Regions from separate parts of the Homo sapiens genome. Here region 1 is linked to region 2. The links are contacts of gene promoters, found by promoter capture Hi-C in human tissues and cell types (Jung and others, 2019). All regions are on one chromosome and are shown on one strand. Each heading gives the region's core, a stretch centred on a gene start or on the middle of the fragment in contact. The rest is flanking DNA. Distances are from core to core; before and after follow the strand shown.

Region 1 (3,248 bases), core at 43-2,542, 260 kb after region 2:
AGAGGCTTGTGGTTACGTTGGTTGCTATGTGGGAAATTTTTGTAAAAATTTAAAAAGGGAAAAAAGACCATGGCAAGAGCATCCTGAGTCTCAGGGGTTGTGTATTGGAATCTGAGAAGTGGAGAGGATATTTACCATCACAGGGGGGCTGTCAGATCACGGATGTTAAGCATTTGGCGCATTGGGAACACTCCCTACTGGTAGCTGTAAATATCATCATTAGCTGCATGCTCAGCTGTTTTATTTTTTCCCCCATCCCAGGGCAGAGGGTGGGGGGATGTAGGCAGTGGTGTCAGGGTCTAGCTGGGAGGAGTGAGGGGACAGGAGGTTGAAGATGAGGAAATGCCTGGTCTGCTATCTTGGTAGCCCTAGCTTCAGGCCCTGTCCCACAGGTAGATGGATAAATGTCCCAGGTGGAGCCCATAGCAAACACCCCTCTGCACCTTCCCACCAGAGTTCTTTTCAGGGCTATCCAAGAGACAGCCAGAATCCATTCCCTGCCTAAAGCACAGAGAATCTGACTTGAGCCACTGTCTTGTGGCTCGATTTCCCTGCAGTTACTACCGAGTGTGAGCCCCATCCATAAGGAATATTTAGAAAACCATCTTCAGAGGCAGTTTCCCACCCCACAATGGCAGCTGAAGAGGACAATGCTATCAGAGCCTATGCTGGTTATGGGTTCTCTGCAGCTCCCCACAAACCACCCCAATACCACATGCATCTCAGCCAGGCTGACCCAAGTTCCTTTTTCCTTTAAGTCAGGGGTCCCCAGCCCCTGGGCTATGGACCAGTACTTGTCCATGGCCTGTTAGGAACTGGGCCACACAGCAGGAGGTGAGTGGCAGGTGAGCAAGCGAAGCTTCATCTGTATATACAGCTGCTCCCCATCACTTAAATTACCACCTGAGCTCCACCTCCTGTCAGATCAGCAGTGGCATTAGATTCTCATAGGAGCATGAACCCTATTGTGAACTGTGCATGCCAGTGATCTAGTTTCCCCACTCCTTATGAGAATCTAACACCTGATGATCTGTCACTGTCTCCCATGACCCCCAGATGGGACCATCTAGTTGCAGGAAAACAAGCTCAGGGCTCCCACTAATTCTACATCATGGTGAGTTGTAGAATTATTCCGTTATATATTACAATGTAATAATAATAGAAATCAAGTGCACACTAAATGTAATGCACTTGAATCATCCTGAAACCATTCCCCAGCCTGGTCCATGGAAAAATTGTCTTCCACGAAACTGGTCCCTGGTGCCAAAAACGTTGGGGACCACTGCTTTAAGCGACTGCAGGCTCCATTTGCACATTTGGGTTTGCCCTTTTGCAAACTTCTCAGTCCTTTCGCGCCTTTCCTTTGAACATCCACTGGGCATCTGCTTCTCACCCTGCAGCTGTAATTTTCAGATTTACAGAACTTAGCTCCCCAGCAAAACCCCAGCCAACCACCATCGCCTCATCCCCAGCTGCAGTGATTGGCTCCAAGGGTGAATACGTCACCCAAACCTGGCCAATCAGAGTCCTTTTACTGAACTTCCACATGTAGGGCTCTTCTATCTTGGATTTTTATTACCTGGGAGGGCATAAAGCTGGTATTTCCTGTGCTGATGTCCCAGTCCCCTGACTCACAAAGAAAGAGTGTCTGTAGGGAGAGAGAACAGGCCCAACACATGAGGTGTGGAGAGCTGGAGAGCACTCATGCCTTTGCTTTAGTTCCTGAATCCAGTTGTGCCTGCAGCCACTTCTGTCCCTGTCCTTTCACAGTTATCTGTCCCAATACATCCCACTCCCTCCTTGATGATTTGAATTGTTGCTGACACTTTTTAACCTCTAAAGTTGTGATGACTACAAACTTGTTCCCCAAGCAGTTCTTCAATGCAGGGGGTGTGGTGTGTCTGTATCCATTTAGTCTCAATTTGAAGATTAGAAACTTGCTGGCCTGTCTCAGGCCTTCCAGGCTCCGTCCTGTGTGATGACTTCTTCCTTCTTTGCTCTGCATATAGCACTACTGTCTTCATCATTTATTACTATTGTGATCTTCGTTATTATTTAAATCATACAAAGTTCTGCATTGAGGATTTCATGTATTATATTTGTTTTCTCCACAACAAGATGACAAGCTTTTGGAATTATTTTTACATCTTAAAAAACAGTCTTTTCAGGACTGACCTTAATTCTGGGCACCTATCCAATAAATAACATTAATTAAATAAAAAACATTTTCCCAAACGCAGAAGCAACTGTGTGGCCTCCTCTGAGCACGATCACATTCCCTGGTGATCGAGTCTTCAGCTGATGCTGATCATTTGAATGTTCACATTCTCAATGTGAAGAGGCCAAGCAGAAGCGCATACGGTGTGAGCCAGGGGAAGAGATTTTTGTACAGCTCCTCTAAAGTAAACATTGTTTTGGGGAGAATCCCAGAAAAACACACATTCATCGTTGTTGCTGTTTTTTCCTGATTAGTCTCAGGACCACAGTGATTCTGAAGCAGCAGGTCCTGGTGAAGCTAAAGGAAGAGGGGGATCTGAGATTAGGGTGCAGGGAAGGAGGGACAATACTTCAGCACAGAAACAAGGCCCAGACTTTCTAATTTGGGATGCTTTTCGCATGTACTTCTTTACTGAGGGAGACAGAGCTTTTGATGCATTTAATACTGGCAAATTAAAATGGCTAAAACACAGATATAATTTAAGCTCTCTCCTAATCCTCTAAACAAATACTCGAGAACTGCAAAGAAAGAAAACTAAGCTAATCTCCATCTGAGAAGGTCTCCTTAGTTTGACTTCTGTTCCTGTGAACCCTTGGAGAGAAGGCCCTGGTACAAAGTCCTTGCCAGGGAGCTCATTGTTACTGCCAAGGACAGGTGGATGTTTAAGGAGTGTGTGCAGACAACTCAAGGAGCATGAAGGATGGATGTATGATGTTTGTCAGAAAATGGGAAGAGCTGAACAAATTAGCCAAGAACTTTTACTAGGTTCATTTACCTTTGTGTTGTAGTCAGGGTGCAGTAAAGAAAGGCAGGGAGTTTTGTGGACGGAATTTAATACAGCAGGCTAGTTAGAAGGACGTTATAAAACCAGGGGAGGGTGAGGCAACCCAGAGATTAGCAACTGCAGGAAGCCATTACCACTGCTAGGACGGAGGAACAAAGGGAGGGGACTGAGCCACCAGACCCAGGAACTGTGAGCTGGAACTGTGGAGGAGGGGCTGCATGAGATGCCACCTGAGGACCCTATGGC
Region 2 (3,137 bases), core at 427-2,926:
TTGCTGCCATTATGAAAAGGACTTCATGCTGAGGACTGAACTTTTCTCAAACCCCTGAATCAAGGACTTTTGCCTAGAAACCAATGAACTGTCATGATAACGCTTTATCTTCAATCAAAATAGTGGGTTACGAAGGTTATGGATGAACTAGTGAGAACTGACTTCTTACTTCCTTTAAAAACCCTACCCAAAAATAGCTGGTCAGGACACAATTCAAATGCTTCTGGAATCTGTGTTCCTTGAACTGCAATTCTCAGACTGCCAATAAACTTCTTTACTTGGATTTCGGTCTCTCTGACTCTGGTTGACACGTTATAATGAACACGTTCAGCGCTTACAAGTAAAGGGTAACCAGATGTTGTTCACAGTAATCCTATGAGGTAGGTTCTATACTTTTATACAGAGGGATTTAGTTACTCTGCTGTATTAGTTTCCTAAGGCTTCTGTAACAAACTGTGACAACCTAAGTGGCTAAAACGACACGAATTTATTACCTTACAGTTCTGAAGTTCAGAAATACAGCTCACTGGGTTAAAATCAAGGCGTCAGTGTGCATGGTGGTTTTCCTGTAGTCCCAGCCACTCAGGAGGCTGAGGTGGGCGGATCGCTTGAGCCCGGGAGCTCAAAACCAGTCTTGGCAACATAGCAAGACCCTGTTTCAAAAAACAAAAAAATCAAGGGGTCAGCTGGACTGTTACTTCTGGAAGCTCTGGGGAACAATTTGGTTTTTGTTTTTTGTTTTTCCCTCCTTTTCTAGCTTCTCCTCCTTTTCCACCTCCCACCTCCTCCTTTATATATATATATATATATATATATATATTTTTTTTTTTTTTTGGAGACAGGTTCTTGCTCTGTCACCAAAGCTGGACTGCAGTGGTGGGATCATGAGCCCTCTCCAGCTCTAGTGATCCTCCTGCCCCAATCCCCCGAGCAGCTGGGACCACAGTGCCCGTCGCTATGTCTAGTTAATTTTTCGTAGAGACGAGTGTCTCACTATGTTGCCCAGGCTGATCTCGAACTCCTGGGCTAAAGTGTTCCTCTCCTGCCTCTGCCTTCCAAAGCACTGGGATTGCAAACATGAGACACTGTGCCTGCTCCTCTTCCAGCTTCTTGAGGCCAGCTGCATTCCTTGGCTGTTGCCCCTTCCTCCACCTTCAAATAGCTTTCTCATACTGACCTTCTTTTTGGGCCCCTTCCACTTTAGAGAACCCTTGTAATTACTTTGTAATTACCCAAGCACACACTCCAAGATCGTCACCTTATTTTAAAGTCCGCTGATAAGCAACCTTAATTCCATCTGCAATCTTAACCCCCTCTGCCAAGCAAGAGAACAAACGCACAGGTTCCAGGGAGTAGGATGTGGACATCCTGAGGCGGAAGCATTATCCCGCCTTCCACAATTGCCCAAGGTCACATAGCTAGTAAGTTCTAGCTAGCACTGAGTGCTGTGCCCGTGAAATTTATCTACATAGGCTTTCACTTAACCTGCAGACAGAACTCAGTTAGTCGGGGACAATTTCCCTCAATGTTAACAGCACTGTTCCACCGCAACGTGGAACAACAGCTTTAAAACGTGCTCTTCGTAGGCCCGGCTACTCCAAGAACAGTGCCTCCCGCCAGACCCAGGCGGCTTCCTTCACCCGCAACCCGAGAGACGACCCGCCGGGCCCGCCCCGCGGAAGCCGCCGGTTGCCAGGCCAAGGAGTGGACTAGGGTCGCCGGGGAAGCGGGTGAGTGGTCCCCGCCCTGGCGGGCTGCCTCTAGAACGAGGAGGGCGGCGCGTGGTCGCGGCGCGGAGCCGAGTGGGAGCGAGGGGTAGACGCGCCCCGGACGCGCGGCCGCGCCCCTCACTTCCGCCCCGCGGTCTGGACCACTCGCCGCAAACCCGCAAGTCCCTCGCCGCCTTGGGGTCTGGGCGCGCGGTGCCGTGGGGGTCAGCAGGGCGGAGCGGCTTTTCCAGGAGAAAGGGCCCTCACGGGTGAGCGGGGCGACTGGGCTCCCCCGCGGTGCAGTTGCCCCGCGGGCGCCGGCCCCGGCTCAACGGATTCTTCTCGCTCGCTGCCCGGAAAGAACCAGTGAGAACCGCTGTTGCAGCAAAAAAAGAAGTTAATAAGCGCAGGGCTGGCCAAACCAGAACAGGGTCTCAGACCTGTCTCCCCGAGAATTCGGGGGCGAGGGTTTTAAAGGGCATTTTGGCTTCGGGGGGCTGGGGAACTGAAACAGTTGACCGGCTGGGGATGAAATCACAAGAGCTTCTGAAACTCGGGGCGGCTTCGTTGGTTCCCAGGAAGGGGTGGGGTCAGTTTCCCTTGTCTTGAAGTTTACACGAAATCCCTCTCCCAGTTATCCTAGCCTCTGTGCTAGAATAAGAAAACGACAACACGGTGAAAACTTAGCCCGTGAGGTTAGAAGCAAGATGGAGTCAGTCATGTTAGATTTCTCGCATTACTTATACATCTGTAAAGGTGGTTTCAGGGACCTTTCTGAACTTAGCCCGTATCTCACTGGTGATCCCACTTCTGGGTATTTGCAAATCACTTTATTAGGTTTTTAAAAGTATTGTTGCAGGCATGCGAAGGGGCCGATATACTTTTGCCATGTCCAGAGTGTATTCAGGTCTTGTAATGATCATATGGGTGTAATATTGAGTAACAGGCAAATGTGGGCAGAAAATATCAAATGTGGTTTTCAGCTAAGAAGTCTGGTTGCTCTTAATTTTCAGTTACTCTCCATTGCATAGAATAAAGCCCCGAAGAAACGAAGAATAAGATCATGGGGAAACTTGGCTTCCATGTTAAACCGTGTAATACCAGGTGTTAGAATAGTAGTAAAGGACTTGTTTCTTTCACATCTATATACACTCAAAAGACCTCATCGATCTTGGAAAAACATTGTTTCGAAGACAATGTGTATGACTGATTTGGTTATATGAAGAAATTATTTCTAGGATTTCCTGGTAATTCTGTGATAAACAGTAATACAAACTGGAATTTTTACAGGTCACTATAGTAGAGGTTTTAGTTTGATTTTTGCTTTGCCTGTCATGCTCTCTCTGCCTTATAATTCTTTGTGGTGTAATTAAAAAACGAACACTAGGGCCGGACGGGGTGGCTCACGCCTGTAATCCCAGCACTTTG

Evidence for each region. Contacts are between HindIII fragments. The study calls those that stand out against the background at their distance.
Region 1: a fragment that was not itself captured here is called in contact with the fragment with the promoter of NEK3 in region 2 in 1 of the 25 tissues and cell types used here (dorsolateral prefrontal cortex).

The regions. Positions count from the first base shown.
Region 1 is chr13:51,892,719-51,895,966 of GRCh38, reverse strand. It overlaps a transcript of TMEM272 not described here. Among named protein-coding and RNA genes, the nearest start is that of CCDC70, 32 kb to the right of the region's middle. The HindIII fragment of the contact is 3,594 bases long and covers 1-3,089 here.
Region 2 is chr13:52,158,136-52,161,272 of GRCh38, reverse strand. It overlaps NEK3 (NIMA related kinase 3), which reads left to right and starts at 1,676. Exons shown (of 16, transcript NM_002498.3): 1 at 1,676-1,730. RefSeq lists silencers at 1,740-1,799, 1,880-1,989. The HindIII fragment of the contact is 9,103 bases long and covers 1-3,137 here.